Linked DNA regions of Homo sapiens: regions 1, 2, 3 and 5 are each linked to region 4. The links are contacts of gene promoters, found by promoter capture Hi-C in blood cells and fetal thymus (Javierre and others, 2016). All regions are on one chromosome and are shown on one strand. Each heading gives the region's core, a stretch centred on a gene start or on the middle of the fragment in contact. The rest is flanking DNA. Distances are from core to core; before and after follow the strand shown. Region 1 holds the start of WDR17 (WD repeat domain 17). Region 2 overlaps SPCS3-AS1 (SPCS3 antisense RNA 1). Region 3 overlaps SPCS3 (signal peptidase complex subunit 3). Region 4 holds the start of AGA (aspartylglucosaminidase). Region 5 has its middle 49 kb from the start of WDR17.

Region 1 (3,514 bases), core at 712-3,211, 1.4 Mb after region 4:
GGCCCTGTCCCTCCTTTCCCAGACTAAAGGATACAAGATAGAGTCTGTAGAAAACAGCAACAACAAAAGCAATCTAGCCCTAGTCTCCCCTCTACTGGGAGCATTGTTTTTCTGGCCTAAATTAATTTATGGCTTTCTAATCTATGGAATTATTTATGTGACTAATGGGTAACTTAAAAATATTTAGAACACCACTATTTATCATTAGAAATAAGAAGAATAAAGAATGTTAAAACTTTCAAGTAAGCATATTTAACGTCTTCTTCAGATGTCCACAGTTTTTTAAGCAGTTCTATTAATATCAACACAAGAGAAAGTCAGAACAATGTAAACAATAACATTCAACTAGTTATTTTTACATAATTACGTTTGCAGAACTCAAGAGCTTTACTTTCCGTATATGCCCTTTGAAATAAGTCATTGCTTTAAAACTTCCCAGGAACTCTAAAGCTACCATTTGTAACATTAATCTCCAAACAATCCAGTAAAGGATGTTTCCCAAAATATTAACGAATTGACAACTTTTCAAAAGCACTTAATAACTATATTTAATTTTAGATGATAGGAGGGGAAAGGTTCTCAGACCACCTATCTCAGACGTCTGCCTTCAAAACAGTTAGATATAACTATATCCATTTTCTTGAACACTTAGGCCAGTGAGGCAGAATCTCAAAAGGATGTAAGAGTGCTTTCTCCACAGAGTTTGTTTCACCACCCGCCCAGCATCAGCTCCTGGCAAGCAGGGTAATGATAAGGCATAAATCTACAAATAAATTAATGCTTAAACTCTTGTGGAGTTCAAATTTATAAATTCTCATAAATTCATTGTCATTTATTTTCTAATTTTTACAACGCAGAAATGTTATTAGAGTGCTAAGAACGGCAACTATAATCTCACATTGTTGGGCTTTGGCCGTTTCGTATCCTTTTACAACGAACTTGTGTTTTTTTGATAGTTTTCTCTAAAGGGTATTTATGAAAGATTCAGAAATGTAGTATCTCTCTTCAAACCCTTGTTAAATATATATAGTATATATGTATATATTAATATGCAAAATAATTTATTTTTGATGCATGGTCGGACTTTTCATTACTTTTCATTCGAATCAATTGCTTTTAATTAATATATTTAAAAAGTCTCCTTAAATTGTTTGTTCCTTTCAATCTTTGCAAGCAAAACAAGTCTGATTTTGGAGAGGGGAGGACAGCAAAGATTCTATTTTACGATCTACTTAATAAATAGTATACCTGCCTTATATCCAATACCGTCTTTTTTCTGGAACGCATTTCCTTTTTACTCAAACCTTTCTTAGTACAACCCTACTAATAAGTCCATCTTCAAAGGGGTAAATGATCTATACAGAAGTGTCTGGCCGGCGGAGGGATGAGAACAGCAACCTAGGCTCTAGACATATACTTAATAGCCATAAAAATAAAACAATGTCCCTCGAAATGTCCACAGTTTACACTGCAATGGTAGTTTAGATACATAAATATTCGCTGCTTGCTGTGCCTTGTAAGAATCAGGTGTGTGGCTCTAAAACTCAGTTGATTATCTCATCAGGCACCATGGTGTGCAAAGCCCTGCAGGACGTACATTACCCTGGTCCGCGATCACAGGGAGGTCAGAGCCCCTCTCGCATGACGCCGCGACAGTTCCAGCATCACCCACATCAATCCTGAGCTTGCCTTGGTATCTCTGCGGCCCCACCGGCTTCTTACCTGGAGGAGGAGGCGGCTGCAGCGGCGGACAGCGGAAGGTGCTGAAGCCGGCGGGCGCAGCTGCGAGGCGAGCACCACCAACGCGCGGACCCTCCCCGCCCTCCCCGCCTGCTCGCTCAGGGCGCCCGGGGGCGGGGCGGCCGGGCCCGCGGGCTCCGAGGGGCGGGAAGCGTGCTCCGCAAGCCCCAGCGCGGAGCCACGATGGAAGGCGCCGCGAGCCCGATCTCCAGGGTCTGCCCCAGAGGCCCACGTGACAGCTACACAGGTCGCTGATTGGAGCGCCCGAGAGGGGGAGGCGGAAGTGGCTCGTGACCCTTGGAGACTAGGCTGAGGGAGAAGTGGTTACCTGGCAACAGAGAAAGTGTGTTGAAGGCGCAGCTCCTCCGTACTGGAGCGAGGCTTTGGGCAGAGGGTTTGCACTGAGGCTGAAAGTGGAGGAAAACGGTGAACCATCAGCGTTCTCACCACCTAACACATTTTATAGCGAGTCTGCACTTTCTAGGAAAATGAGTCAAATATACAGTAAGTCAGTCATCCTGTCTCTTTCTTGAGGGACCTGGAGGAGGGACTTGAACCAGTGCCTGGAATGTGAGTGCAGAATGCTGTCTCGCCTGCACTTCATTATTGTCTGATTGGGCCCAAGAAGGTCTGTGGGAGAGCTCAATGGATAAGATTATTTGTTTATATTAATCGAGTTGTATGTGGTTAATGTATCTGCCTTCACAAAACTGACATTTTCCCTGTGGGATCTGGTTGAATGGAAGTGCTGGATGTTGTCATTCCTACTGGATTCTTCACATCTCTGAAATATCTTCACTACCTGTGGCCTTTATCCAACACACTAGAGAGAATAAGCCTCGACGTACTCGAAACAAAGTGTATTTAATGACATCTATCGAGAATTAATTATACTCCACTCTAAATAGTTAATAAATGAATGGTCGACCTCAACCAGAGAAAGTCCCTGGGCCTAATTCTTACCTTCCTATGCAGTAGATTTTAATGCTCCTTTTTTCCAAAATATTCTCTGCAGAGACGAGTACCTACCACAGCACTCAATATTCTATATTGTAAATTAAAATTAACTTAAATGTTGGATTTCCATATAAAGAATAAACTTGTTAAAGCTAAAATCAGTTCTTACAACTCCGTCCCCTATATTCTAACAAAGTATCTGATGAATAGCAGGTCTTCAATTAATTCTTGATGGATAGATGGATAAAGAAAGAAAGAAATTAGCACATAATCTACCAGAGAAAGTATAAGGGCAATAACTAAATATAACTCAATGTGTTAAGTACTAAAATAGGGTTACATAAAAGTGCTATGAGATGATTTCAGATGAGGGAGGCAGAACTTTTTCTTCCAAGGTATTCAGAGAAGCTTTCAATATGATTAGTATTTGAGCAGGGACTTATAAATAGGTAGAATTTCACCTGATAAAAAGGGGAAAGTGTATACTATGCAGCAGGAGCAGCATTGCCAAAAGCATAAAGTGGGAAAAAATAAACGATTGATGTAAATAAATTTGATGTTTTTGCCTTCTCCGGAGTTGGGGATGTGAATCCAAAGATAAGAAGGAAGATGGAAATTGGCAAAAGACTGTACTAGAAAAATAAGAAAACTTGATTGGGAAAGATGCAGAATTCTATATATGGGTTAGGCTTTAACCTCTAAACCAAAGGAAGAGATTGAAGTTTATAAAATCAGTGCTTTTTCATCAAGAAAGACACCTTGGAAACATTGGAGATACATGGGATGCAGGAAGATGAAGAACATGGTCTGTTAGGAG
Region 2 (3,390 bases), core at 16-2,515, 1.1 Mb after region 4:
AGAAATGAATTTCTGTTTCATTCAAACCACTAATTAGGAGAGTTTTCTGCCATGTGAAGCTCCAAACTAATATATTTTCCTTAAGTCATTGCCCAGGCAAGGCTGGGTACAGTGGATCACACCTGTAATCTCAGTGCTTTCCGAGGCTGAAGCAGGAGGATCGCTTGAGCCCATGAGTTTGAGGCTGCGGTGAGCTATGATGGCACCTCTGTACACCAACCTGAGCAACAGAGCAAGACCCTATCTCTGAAAACTAAGGTTGTTGGCAGACAGAGGAATGCCACGGCTGACCGACTTCTTCCTGTGAGTATTCTTCCCCGGACTAAGGTTGTAGTTACAGAGTTTCTCAAGTGACAGAGGGTGTGTGAGGGACAGCTGGGCAAAATCCAGGTACAATTGAGAAAAAAGTAGGGAAGGGTTGCTGTGTAACTGGCCTACAGAGTGTGATCACTACAGAGATTATTAGTTAACCAGGCAAAGAGAGAAGAGCTGAACAAGATAGACTGAAAGTATGTGTTGGGTCCCTGAGCAAGAATGAGCTTAGCGGTGGGTATGTTCAAAGAACTGGAAGAAAGTCAGTAGGATCAGTGAATGGGGAAAATTGAACAAGATGTGGTCAGGTGATGCAGGGCCTTCATTTATCGCCAAGGTAACTGTATATACATGTTTGCCCAGAGCTGTCCTAGTTTTACCATATTTTCCTGGAAAAATTGTAATAGCACTCCCTTTGACTTCAAAAAATGTCCTGGATTGGTTAATAAATTATAGCATTATACCACAAAGATAGTCCATGTTAAGGAATTTGAACTGTATTCTAAACACAGTGGGAAGTAGTCTTTTTCCTTATTTTCTATTAGCGGATATCTTACTATCTCAAACTTTATCATCTAGCTACTCTTTCATTTCTTTCCCTAGGTGAACCTCTAGAAAGTTCTTCCTAAATTGCCCCAAGGGTTATCCAGCCTCAAAAGAACAGATAAAAGCCTATTTCTGCCTTTTCTGAGTCACGTGATGTTCTCTATAAGATTGCTTCTCTCTGCCTGAATTTCTCATCCAGCAATCCAGTTAGGCTGTAAGCAATCTTGCTATGTTATTATAAACTCTACTCTGTGTATTAAATATTCTTGCTTATGGCACTTCTTTTCAAATCTTTTCTAACTTATTTTGACTGATCTTGTAGCCATCCAGTCTGCTGAAAATCTGCCGGCTGCTTCGTGACCTTGAGCAAGTTTCTGAACCTTTCCTTGGCCTCTTTTCTTATTTGTAAAATTGAGCTACCATAGACTGAGTGGCTTAAACAACAGAAATTAATTTGCCACATTTCTAGAAGTCCAAGATCAGGATGCCTTCAGGACTGGTTTCTAGTGAGGCCTCTCTTCCTGGTTTGTGGAGGGCTGCCTTCTCACTGAATCTTCAGAGGGCCTTTTCTCCATGTGCACTCAGGGAGAGAGAGGCCTCTTAGGTCCCTTCCTTGTTTTATGAGGACACTAGTCATACTGGATTAAGACTCACTCTTGCTGGGCGTGGTGGCTCGTGCCTGTAATCCCAGCACTTTGGGAGGCCGAGGCAGGTGGATCACGAGGTCAGGAGTTCGAGACCAGCCAGTTCGAGACCAGCCTGGCTAACATGGTGAAACCCCGTCTCAACTAAAAATACGGAAATTAGCTGGGCCTGGTGGCATGTGCCTGTAATCCCAGCTACTCGGGAGGCTGAGGCAGGAGAATTGCTTGAATTTGGGAGGCGGAGGTTGCAGTCAGCTGAGATCACATCACTGCATTCCAGCCTGGGTGACAGAGTAAGACTCCGTCTCAGAAAAAAAAAAAAAGACTCACTTTTGTGACTCAACCTTTACTACCTTTTTATAGGCCATACTCCAAATACAATCACACTGAGGGTTAGAGCTTCAATGTATGAATTTGGGGGGGTGGGGACACAGTTCAGCTGATAATGGGGTATTAGGGGTAATAAATGAGAAACTGCATGAAAAGCACTTTTAGAGTTTTATATTCTTTATTTCTATATATAAGATATTCATTGGAGAATTAAAATAGCATTTAACTACAAGTGCAGCTACTATTTAAAACCTAAAGATGATGAATAAGATGAATATAATTTATAATAAAATAGCAACATTGCATATATCTTAACTGTTTTTTTTTTTTGTCTGAAAAAAAACTTGCAATATGAGTTGGTTGCTTTATTATGCCAGAGTGTAGGGGGATATTACTTTATACAAAATGACTTGGAAGAAAACAATATCTTTGACACAAGGAATACTAAGTATATTTGAAAGAATAATCTAATACAAACAATAATGTGTGATTATTGTCATTATCTGTCAATTCAGAAAAGAAAAATAACTTAATTTCTAGTGCTTTCACCACAGCTGACACAGTTGTGATCTATTCAATCTCGCTATTTTATTATAAACTAGATTTATCTTATACATCGTCTCTAGGTTTTAAATAAATGCACATGAGCAACAGCTCATGGACACTAACATGCAGAACCAGGTGACACTCCATCATATTTCATCATAACCCCTGATTTTCTTGAAACCTAAGAATTTCACAGAAAAGAACTTGAATCTTGCCCATAATTGTGGTTTATAGACAGTAAGGAGAATGCAGAAGATATTGATGAACATTATAGCCAGAGAGAACAAGGATCCTGACAGGGCAGAAAATGTCACTTTAAGTGAAGAGGCACTGAGCACAAGACACTACCACCGCTTCCCACCCTGGTCTGAGGAGAAAGCTATGGATATGGAAAGCCTTTTAAAAAATGATAGAAACAGGCCGGGCACGGTGACTCACGCCTGTAATCTCTGCACTTTGGAAGGCCGAGGTGGGCGAATCACCTGAGGTCAGGAGTTCTAGACCAGCCTGGCCAGCATGATGAAACCCCATCTCTACTAAAAAAACACAAAAATTAGCCGGGTGTGGTGGTGCATGCCTGTAATTCCAGCTACTTGGGAGGCTGAGGCAGGAGAATTGCGGAGGTTGCAGTCAGCCAGGATTGCACTACCGCACTCGAGCCTGGGCGACAAGAGTGAGACTCCGTCTCAAAAAAATAAAAAAAATAAAGACAGAAACAAAACAAACCACCACCACCAAAACATCTTTACTAGTGTGAACCCCAAATATCTGAGATGGTCTCAATTACTTTAGAAAGTTTATTTTGCCAAGGTTGAGGATGCACACCCATGACATAGCCTCAGAAGGTCCTGAGGACACGTGCCCAAGGTGGTCGAGGCACAGCTTGGTTTTATACATTTTAGGGAGGCATGACACATCAATCAATATATATATAAGAAGTACATTGGTTCAGTCCAGAAAGGAGGAGACAATTCGAAGCAGGGAGGGTACTTGCAGATCACAAGTAGGTGAG
Region 3 (3,388 bases), core at 626-3,125, 1.1 Mb after region 4:
TACCCACATTGGTTCCTTGTAAAAACGAGAAATAAACTTTTGTTTTCTTTTGAGATGGAGTCTCACTCTGTAGCCCAGGCTGGAGTGCAGTGGAGCTCTTGGTTCACTGCAACTTCCGCCTCCCAGGTCCAGGTTCAAGCAGTTCTCCTGCCTCAGCCTCCCCAGTAGCTGGGATTACAGGCACATGCCACCATGCCCAGCTAATCTTTGTATTTTTAGTAGAGATGGGGTTTCACCATGTTGGCTAGGCTAGTCTTGAACTCCTGATGTCGTGATCTATCCCCCTCAGCCTCCCAAAGTGCTGGGATTATAGGCGTGAGCCACCGTGCCCAAACTTTTTCTTATGCTACCAAAAGTTTGATGTCACCTATCATAGCACTTGGTGTTATTTTAACTAACAGAATGTTTAATCAGACTTTCAAATGTTGAGATGAGGGCAAGAGTCAGGTAGCAATCAATCTCTCTCTTAATCTCAATTAAGTGTGATTCCCAGTTAGACTTTTAGTCATCCTGGGTTGTCGGTGCACGTGCAGAGAATTAACAGCATTTAGAGATTCTTAAAGCAGCAGCAGAGGCTGCACAGTTGGATAAGCCATGGATTTCTCAAATAAATTTGAGCGAGACCCACACAACCTTGAGCAGACTTATAAGATGAATTTGTTTCAGATTCCTCAGCGCATGTCAGAACCCACTTCCTCCCCACTCACATCTGTTAGATTCCTTCCCACCCTTTGTACTCACTCACTAGGGAGCTTGCAGCCATTCCAAGCCACTCACGAGCAAGCATAGGGCTTAGGAGCACAAACATGGTACTTTTTAGAAGAAATGCACAGAGGCTTTGTCTCCAGTATAGTACTAATCAGTCCCTTTACTTCTCAACTCTTAGGTGCCTATTTCCAACTATACTCAACAGATACACAAGTGGAATGTGTATAAATTATGCACATGAAAAGGGAACACTTCAAAGCTCCTTCAAGCTTGAGGTTTATTTGGATATAAAGGTATACTTATTAAAGTGGTAAGTTTTCTTTTGGTCATGGCAACTCATTAATCAGGCAACAATTTACTGAACTCCGAATTCTTAACACTTCACTGGGAGAGAGGGAAAAGGACAAGAGAGTATGAGGAAAAACGTTTAAAAGAGAAAGTTCTGGTATACACTTGCCCAGGTTGAGAGAAAACAAAATAAAATGTAGCTGACCTCTTTTATCATTCCTGGTAACATACACTTAGGTTAAAATCCCTTACCCTCTAAATGCAATGATTTTCTGTTGTTTTGAGGGGGTATTTCTGTTTTGATTGTCTGAATTCACTAGTAAATAAACGTTCCCTTAGTGAGCCAGACCAGCCAATGTGCCCAAGAAGCTGGTGGAGGATCAGCCAACACCCTGGCCTTTCAAAGAGTCAGCTATTTGTTTTAACCCATTTCTTCCTGAGCTATACTTTAAACATGCATCCTGAGTTTTTTTTTTTTTCTTGATCAGGTCTACGGTAGGGTTTTCCAGTGTTATTTCAAAGTAAAGCAATTTATGTATCAATCTTATCACTAGCCACTATCACTTGGCTCTCTTAGCAAGTCAGAAAGAACATAGGTCACAGCAACTAGAGCAAGAGCAGCATTTACCTTTACTGAACTGTCCAACTGCCCCTGATAAGATCTAATGTCATTAGGAGCTCAAGAATGAAAAAAAAAAAACAGCACTTACAAAGGAGGACGGTATTAATGACAAAGAATCCCCATGGTTTGGTCACATTAGAAACACAACGCCTTCATTCTTCATCAATATTTATTGGGCGCCTATTATGTGCAAGGCACTACACTAGGCGCTGGGGAAGATACAAAGATAAATCTGACAGACTGCCCTCAAAGAGCTTACAGTCTAGTATAGGAGCATACAGTCTCTGGAGAAGATATTTTAAGTGTAACTAACCTCCCCCATCCCACCCCCACAAAAAAAAAGAAAAAACCTACTAGACTTGGTTTCTTCCATTTACTTTTAGTTTAGCAGCTTCACGTAAAAAGCATAAATCTGAAAGTCTTTTAAAATGCATACTTTTACTGGTAAACAAAATTCATTTTCATTAGAAAAAATGCTGAATATTTATTGCAATTAAGAAAAATCTTCAGCCGGGCACGGTGGCTCACACCTGTTATCCTAACACTTTGGGAGGCCGAGGCAGGTGGATCACTTGAGGTCAGGAGTTTGAGACCAGCCTGGCCAACATAGCAAAACCCCGTCTCTACTGAAAATACAAAAATTAGCCGGACGTGGTGGCGGGCGCCTGTAATCCCAGCTACTCCGGAGGCTGAGGCAGGAGAATCGCTTGAACCTGGGGGGTGGAGGTTGCAGTAAGCCAAGATCGCGCCACTTCACTCTAGCCTGGGCGTAAGAGCAGATCTCCGTCTCAGAAAAAATAAAAAAATTTAAAAAGGAAAAGAAAAATCCTCAAACATATGTTCAGTATTTTCATGAATTTTTTTATGAATGACTACATTGTGAAGTAAACAATTTCCCAAATTGCATCAAAAACATGCAACAATTTTTTGAAACATCTCTTTAAACTACTGAAAGTCACACATGTAACATATACAGGCTTCTCTCTGCTAAAAGCAAGGAAAGTTTTGAAATGAATATATGCTTGTTTGCTACCAATGTTCACAGCTCATGGTTTTCCCCCATGAACCCACTTCATGTCAATGCAAAGTATTATAAAATAATACCTCCATTGACATATACCCGAAAGATCCAAAGCTCTAGATCTCTAAGCTTCAGATAGAAAAAAAAATAGTGAAAAATGTTCATTATCAATTAATAGCTGGGCTTTAAGATTATCATCTTAGAGAAAAAGCCCAGCTTTTCATCTCTAAGATGAAATCTTTAAAAAGCCCATCTATCATCTCTAAGATGATAATCTTAAAGCCCAGCTATGAATTGGCTGACGAGACCCACCAAAGAACTGTAAAATAATTCCAGGAAAGGAAACTCAAAACCCACTTTCTTATTACACCCTTAGGAATTTCTGAAGTTTTTGTTATTTTCCTTTCAGAATAAAGAAACCAAATGTAATCAATCAGGGGAATAAAAAAATACTGATACAGATGTTTGTCTAGGTTAAACTGTTAGAGAAAGGGATATGTGAACACATTTTTAAATTAATTCATTTCTAACCATAATTACTTTTAAATAAGTGTCTTCAAATTATTCTCTTTTCTCAGAATCATTTCTGGGCTCAGGTATTTCTAATCATACTCAGTTTTGTATAAGCCTGAAGCTTTGTGTCTTTGTAGAACATTATGAGACTTCTTTAAAACACTGAGACTAAAGCAAATGAACTGGTTATCAAACTGAACACAAGTCAATTTTTTAAATGTAGAAACTGCACCCAA
Region 4 (3,435 bases), core at 936-3,435:
AGAAGACACTGAATCGGGTAGATTCTATAGGGATTGCATATTAGTTATTTAAATACAAATATCCGGCTGGGCACGGTGGCTCACACCTGTAATCCCAGCATTTTGGGAGGTCGGGGGGGTGGGGGCGGTGGGTGGATCACCTGTGTCAGGAGTTCAAGACCAACCTGGCCAAAATGGCAAAACCTGTCTCTACTTAAAATACAAAAATTAGCCGGGCATGGTAGTAGGCAGTAGCAATCCCAGCTACTCAGGAGGCTGGGGCAAGAGAATCGCTTGAATGCAGGAGGTGGAGGTTGCAGTGAGCTGAGATTACACCAGTGAACTCCAGCCTGGGCGATAGAGCAAGACTCCATCTCAAAAAATAAATACATACATACATACATACATACAAATATCCATGGAAAAGTTGATATATTGAGACCTTCTATCAGCCATTCCCACTATAGTGTAATTTAGCTGTTTCTCTGACAGGAATTTTTATTTAAGAAGAAAGAATTTGGAGAAATAGACATAGTAGGAGGTAACAGATCAGGCTCTTTCCACCAGAAGAAACACAAATACCTTAAAAAACAGGAAGAGGCTAGAGAGATCAGTGGGGTACTAAGACCAATTTTCCATGTATTGTATTTTACAATTTTTGCTAAAGGCATGTCCTAATTCCTTAAGGCTGCATAAAAATACTCAGCCCAGGAGCTAAGGAAAATTTACTCAGAGGACAATGTATGTTTTTCTGGCTTTCTTACCCTGTTTCACCCAAGTTTCCAGTTTCACCTGCCATTGGGTTATGATTACTCCAGCACAGATGACTTGTTCCTCTTCCAAACCCCATGAAAGGAACTTAGAAAATTTGTCTTTATTATATCTTTTAATTAACACTTCCCCAACGGGATAATGATACTTCTGGGCTATCTTATGTTCTTTAAATTATGTATTTAATTTCCTAGCAATCAATAAGAGCCTTGAAGGTTTTGTAAGTCTCACAACTCCTACCTAGTTTATATTTTTACATTTATTTATTTATTTATTTTTGAGACAGAATCTCACTCTGTTGTCCAGGCTGGAGTGAAGTGGTGCGATCTCGGCTCACCACAATCTCCACCTCCCGGCTTCAAGCAATTCTGCCTCAGCCTCCCAAGTAGTTGGGACTACAGGCATGCACCACCACGCCCGGCTAATTTTTGTATTTTTAGTAGAGACGGGTTTCACTATGTTGGCCAGGCTGGTCTCGAACTCCTGACCTCGTGATCCACCCACCTCAGCATCCCAAAGTGTTGGGATTACAGGCGTGAGCCATCGTGCCCAGCCTAGTTCATATTTTTAAAGTTTGTATAGATTTATAGATGCTTTTAAAAATTATGTGATTATGTGTCTTGCCTTGGCAACCTGGGCAGGCATTCCAGACACCCAAAGGGATTATTAGTTCATGTTCGCACGTCTGCCCAGCAACAAAACTGAGCAGCCTCCACCAAGCACGTAAAATCCCCATTCCTCCTCTTATTCATTTATTTAGCACTTAATAGTGCCAGGCAGGAAGGTAAAAATACATTTAAAAAGGAATGGAGGTAGCCGTCTTGCCCTGGAGGTGCAGGAAGCTGCACTTCAGTGTGCTAGGTAGAGGGTACATAGGCCGTTTCTGTTTTTCTTCCAGCTCAGGGATTTATAATGAGAGGAAGTGCTACAAAAAGCTGTGGTGCGAAAATGACGGACGCTATGAATGGAAAAAAAATCTAAAATCAATCCGGTCCTAAGCAAACACGCTTCACCTACACTCATAACTATTGCAGACCTCCGAGGCCTGGGATCCCCAAGAATATACTGAGTTTGACAAACTTTTCAACTTCAACTTTAAATTAAAAAGACAGTAAAAGAACCAAATCCATAGTACACAGCAATCGGCTAAAGTTCCTGGGGCCCTGCAACCCAGAGTTGAATAATTTTGTATTAAATTCCCAATATCAAGCTAAATCTATTTTAACCACAGGAAAAGCAGCAACTTGTCTGGCTATTTTAAAAATCTGAACAGCACTTAGGAAGAAGCACCTTAGCGCAGGGAACAGCTCAGTGCCCCGTGACACAACTCTCCCGCGGGCCCAGGGACGCCTCGTCTCGCGAGAGTTGAGGGACGCCTGAGCGAACCCCCGAGAGAGCGGGCGTGGGCGCCAGGCGGGCGGGGCACTGGGGATTAATTGTTCGGCGATCGCTGGCTGCCGGGACTTTTCTCGCGCTGGTCTCTTCGGTGGTCAGGGATGGCGCGGAAGTCGAACTTGCCTGTGCTTCTCGTGCCGTTTCTGCTCTGCCAGGCCCTAGTGCGCTGCTCCAGCCCTCTGCCCCTGGTCGTCAACACTTGGCCCTTTAAGAATGCAACCGAAGCAGGTGCGGGTTGGCGGCCTGGGCGGGCGGCTGCGCCGCGAGAGCTTGCGGGTGGGGATGACTAGCCCGCCCCGCTGCAGTCACCCGGCAGGGCGGACGGAAGAGCGCCGGGCTGGGCCGGGCCTCGCGGTCCCGCCCTCTAGGTCTTCCCGAGTCTCCAGCGCCGCTCAGTCTCTTGCAAGTGGCCTTTACTGCATCCTCCCCACCTACCGCTGTTGCATTTTAGGTCCTCCCTTCATGCAGCCCCCAGCGCAATGTATTTTCCACCCTGCTGCTGACCATAGTTATGGCCTTTGTGCTTTAATCAAGTAGCAGCTACGCTTTTCTGCCTGACAGTCTTTTCACGGGCTGTGTACGTCTCCACCTCTCGTTTCTAATCCTTCACTTCTTTGCAATTTTGTAGACGACTAATAGTGTCCCAGCCATAGCCTACTCTTTTCCCATTTACTTTTTTTGCCACGTGTTGTCATACTTTACCTGCCACTTAGAATTCAAGGTTCCAACCTTTGCTGTACATTCACACTATCTGGGGAGCTTCTCAAAAATCATCCTGCCGGGGCCCACCTCCTGTGACTGTGATCTAACTGCTGGAATCAGGGCCACTGTTTTTCTTTAAAAAGCTCCCTAGGTGATTTCGATTTGCAGACAGGGTTGAGAACCACTAAGCTAAGGTATCACCTCTTCCAGGAAGCGTTCCCTGACTTAACTGCCCTCGTGTCCAGAATGAGTTAGGTTCCTGCCTTCTACACCTTGTTAATAGCCTTTACGTACCATTATCTTGGCATTTTCGCATTGTACTATGCTTGTTTCTTTCATTTGCTTAATGACCAGAAGAGTCATTTTCAGACCCCTCCTCCTCCATCTGAGGTTGCTAACGTATTAACTTTCTAGGGCAGAATTGGCTCCAGAATTTGGTGGCAGTGCATACGATTCAGAGAAAATGAAGAAGCAGGCTGTGAGAAAGATATTCCCAGCCATAATGAGACGAAAAGAAATTGCATCAGCCTGGGCGGGGGACAGTTCTGTGTTTAAGTTGCCTGTATTGAAAGAGGGAACTTGCGTAAA
Region 5 (3,368 bases), core at 577-3,076, 1.4 Mb after region 4:
CATGGATGCAGATGTTGGAAAACTCTTTTCCCAGTTGGCAGTCTGTGTTCTTTTATACATATATATATGTATAATATATATATATGTATAATATATATATGTATAAGTATAATATATATATATTATATGAAGTATTATATATTATACTTTAAGTTTTAGGGTACATGTGCACAATGTGCAGGTTTGTTACATATGTATACATGTGCCATGTTGGTGTGCTGCACCCATTAACTTGTCATTTACATTAGGTATATCTCCTAATGCTATCCCTCCGCCATCCTTCCACCCCACAACAGGCCCCGGTGTGTGATGTTCTCCTTCCTGTGTCCAAATGTTCTCATTGTTCAATTCCCAATGCTCACTATCACTGGCCATCAGAGAAATGCAAATCAAAACCACAATGAGATACCATCTCACACCAGTTAGAATGGCAATCATTAAAAAGTTAGGAAACAACAGGTGCTGGAGAGGATGTGGAGAAATAGGAACACTTTTACACTGTTGGTGGGACTGTAAACTAGTTCAACCATTGTGGAAGACAGTGTGGCAATTCCTCAGGGATCTAGAACTAGAAATACCATTTGACCCAGCCATCCCATTACTGGGTATATACCCAAAGGATTATAAACCATGCTGCTACAAAGACACATGCACACATATGTTTATTGCAGCACTATTCACAATAGCAAAGACTTGGAACCAAACCCAAATGTCCATCAATGATAGAATGGATTAAGAAAATGTGGCACATATACACCATGGAATACTATGCAACCATAAAAAAGGATGAGTTCATGTCCTTTGTAGGGACATGGATGAAGCTGGAAACCATCATTCTCAGCAAACTATCGCAAGGGCTGTCTGTGTTCTATAATCAATGTATTTGAAGAGGTGCTAATGTTCTTGAGAAAGAAGAAAAGGATTTCCTACTACTTCTTTTTCATCATTGAACACATATCTGAGCTTTGTCTTTAAACCAAGTAATTCAATACAAAACTACTGGTGGTTATCTGAAAGCCCTAAAGCTTAGCACGTGTATATTTTAGTGATGTTTATGATCATATAATATCTTGCCAATGTGCAAAAAGTGTAAAACTGGAAAATTCTTGTCTCATGCATACACCTCTACAGATTCATGCCAATTCACCTACTATTAAGGAGACCAGTGAGTACTCATTCTTACCATCACAGAAACTTAAGTGACAATTGTTTCTAGTGAAACAATACTTACATATGCAGCTTCTATGTGGTCTACTTTAAATGTATAATCCTGTTTAATATTTAATCATTAAGATATGCTAAATAATAATAATTAAAATATGAGTCTTAAGTCACAGACTGGGAGAAAATATTTGCAAAAACTATTTGATAAATGACTGTTAGTCAAAATAAACAAAGAACTTTAAAAACTCAACCATAAGAAAAACAACCTGATTTACAAAAGGCAAAAGATTTGAACAGACACCTAATCAGAGATAATAATAATATATGAAATGAGAATATGAAAAGATGTTCCACATCGTTATGTCATTAGAGAATTGGAAATTAAAACAACAATGAGACAATTCTACACAACTGTGAGATGGCAAAAATCCAAAATACTGATAAGAATGTGGAGACACTGGAGCTTCTCACGCACTGCTAGTTGAAAGACAATTTGGCACTTTCTTATAAAACTAAACATGCTCTTACCATAAAATCCAGCAGTCTCACTCCCTGTTATTTACGTAAATAAGTTGAAAACTTATATGCACACAAAAACCTGCATACGGATGATTATAGCAGCTTTATTCATAATTGTCTAAACTTGGATGCAACCAAGATGTCCTTCAGTAGGTGAATGGATAAACTATGGTGCATTTAAACAATTAAATAGTATTTAGGACTGAAAAGAAATGAGCTATCTAGGCATGAAAAGACATGGAGGAACCATAAATACATATTACTAAGTGTAAGGAGCCAATACTGTATGATTTTAACTATAAGGCTACACAGTGTATGATTAAAACTATATAACATTCTGGAAAAGGCAAAACTATGGAGTTGGTAAAAGGATCTGTGGTTGCCAAGAGTTAGTGGGGAGGGAGGAAGGAATAAGTGGAGCACAGAAGATTTTTAGAGCAATGAAACTATTCTGCATACTATGATGGTGGGTACAAGTCATTTATGCACTTGTCCAAACCCATAGACCATGTAACACCAAGAGTGAACCACAGTGTAAGCCATGGACTTTGGAAGATAATGATGTGTCAATGTAGGTTCATTGATTGTAACTAATGAACTGTTTTTATGGGGAATGTTGATAGTGGAGGAGCCTATGCATGTGTTGGGTAGGGGGATATGGAAACTCTCCATATCTTCCATTCGGTTTTGCTGAGAACCTAAACTACTATTTTAAATAGTCTATAAAGTGCAAGAAAGAAAGAGACAGAGAGAGAGGAGAAAGAGAAGGAAAGAAAGAAGTAAAAGAAAGAAAGAAAGAAAGAAGAAAAAAGAAAAAAGAAAAAGAGAAACTTGCTTTCTCAACTGACAGTTGCAACCTCTACATTTGAAAATACTGACATGAACAAAATGAATCATCTATCTCATGGAAGGGAGGAATTTTCTCCAAAGAAAGGCAAAGCTTTAAATAAGAAATGAGAGTATGATGGAAGCTATCTTCCCCTCAGCTTTAAAAATCCTAATAATGTATACCTAAGTATATCTGATTGTGTCCTATGCAATGGAACATTTTTGTATAGTATCATGATGTCAGCTAAGTTGTGACGTCATTTTGAGACCAACCATTCAGAGTTTTTAAAAAAGAAATTATAAATTTTAGGCTGGGCACAGTGGCTCATGCTTGTAATCCCAACACTGGGAGGCCAAGGTGGGCAGATCACCTGAGGTTAGGAGTTTGAGACCAGCCTGACCAACATGGTGAAACCCCGTCTCTACCAAGAATACAAAATTAGCCGGGCATGTTGGGGCATGCCTGTAATCCCAGGCTACTCAGGAAGCTGAGAGAGGAGAATTGCTTGAACCCAGGAAGCAGAGGTTGCAGTGAGCTGAGATCACACTATTGCCCTCCAGCCTGGGCAACAAGAGCAAAACTCCGTCTCAAAAAAAAAAAAAAGAAAGAAAGAAAGAAAGAAAGAAAGAAATTATATATTTTAAATGTAGATACTATGAGCTCTTTAAAAGCCAAAGTTTATTGTAAGTTCCAAACTAGGAATGAAAAAGTCACTGAAACACTCTGCAGGTTTTAAATTCTAACGAGGTAAATATTGATCAATATAACTCAGATTAAAAGCTTTTTAGGAACACCTCAACCCCCCTCTTAAGAGAAATGTGTTCCAAAACCAAAATGTAAGAAAACCACTCTGGAT

What was found. Contacts are between HindIII fragments. The CHiCAGO score rates a contact against its expected background, and 5 or more counts as called.
Region 1: the fragment with the promoter of WDR17 here is called in contact with the fragment with the promoter of AGA in region 4 in 3 of 17 cell types (naive B cells, total B cells and non-activated CD4 T cells); the score reaches 7.0 in naive B cells.
Region 2: a contact is called between a fragment that was not itself captured here and the fragment with the promoter of AGA in region 4, in 1 of 17 cell types (total B cells). The highest score is 5.3, in total B cells.
Region 3: a contact is called between a fragment that was not itself captured here and the fragment with the promoter of AGA in region 4, in 7 of 17 cell types (non-activated CD4 T cells, activated CD4 T cells, naive B cells and 4 more). The highest score is 8.9, in non-activated CD4 T cells.
Region 5: a fragment that was not itself captured here is called in contact with the fragment with the promoter of AGA in region 4 in 1 of 17 cell types (naive B cells); the score reaches 6.4 in naive B cells.

Annotation. Positions count from the first base shown.
Region 1 is chr4:176,064,288-176,067,801 of GRCh38, reverse strand. It overlaps WDR17 (WD repeat domain 17), which reads right to left and starts at 1,961. Exons shown (of 29, transcript NM_181265.4): 1 at 1,723-1,961. RefSeq lists a silencer at 1,706-2,085. The HindIII fragment of the contact is 5,440 bases long and covers 1-3,107 here.
Region 2 is chr4:176,304,663-176,308,052 of GRCh38, reverse strand. It overlaps SPCS3-AS1 (SPCS3 antisense RNA 1), which reads left to right. Exons shown (of 4, transcript NR_186171.1): 4 at 86-95. Among named protein-coding and RNA genes, the nearest start is that of SPCS3, 14 kb to the left of the region's middle. The HindIII fragment of the contact is 7,935 bases long and covers 1-3,390 here.
Region 3 is chr4:176,330,627-176,334,014 of GRCh38, reverse strand. SPCS3 (signal peptidase complex subunit 3) reads right to left here. Exons shown (of 5, transcript NM_021928.4): 5 at 1,770-3,388. Among named protein-coding and RNA genes, the nearest start is that of SPCS3-AS1, 12 kb to the right of the region's middle. The HindIII fragment of the contact is 1,791 bases long and covers 980-2,770 here.
Region 4 is chr4:177,441,187-177,444,621 of GRCh38, reverse strand. AGA (aspartylglucosaminidase) reads left to right here and starts at 2,185. Exons shown (of 9, transcript NM_000027.4): 1 at 2,185-2,373. The coding sequence starts at 2,247. It also overlaps a transcript of AGA-DT not described here. RefSeq lists enhancers at 1,520-1,599, 1,690-2,233, 3,060-3,139. The HindIII fragment of the contact is 8,233 bases long and covers 1-3,435 here.
Region 5 is chr4:176,015,029-176,018,396 of GRCh38, reverse strand. No RefSeq gene overlaps it. Among named protein-coding and RNA genes, the nearest start is that of WDR17, 49 kb to the left of the region's middle. The HindIII fragment of the contact is 1,598 bases long and covers 1,028-2,625 here.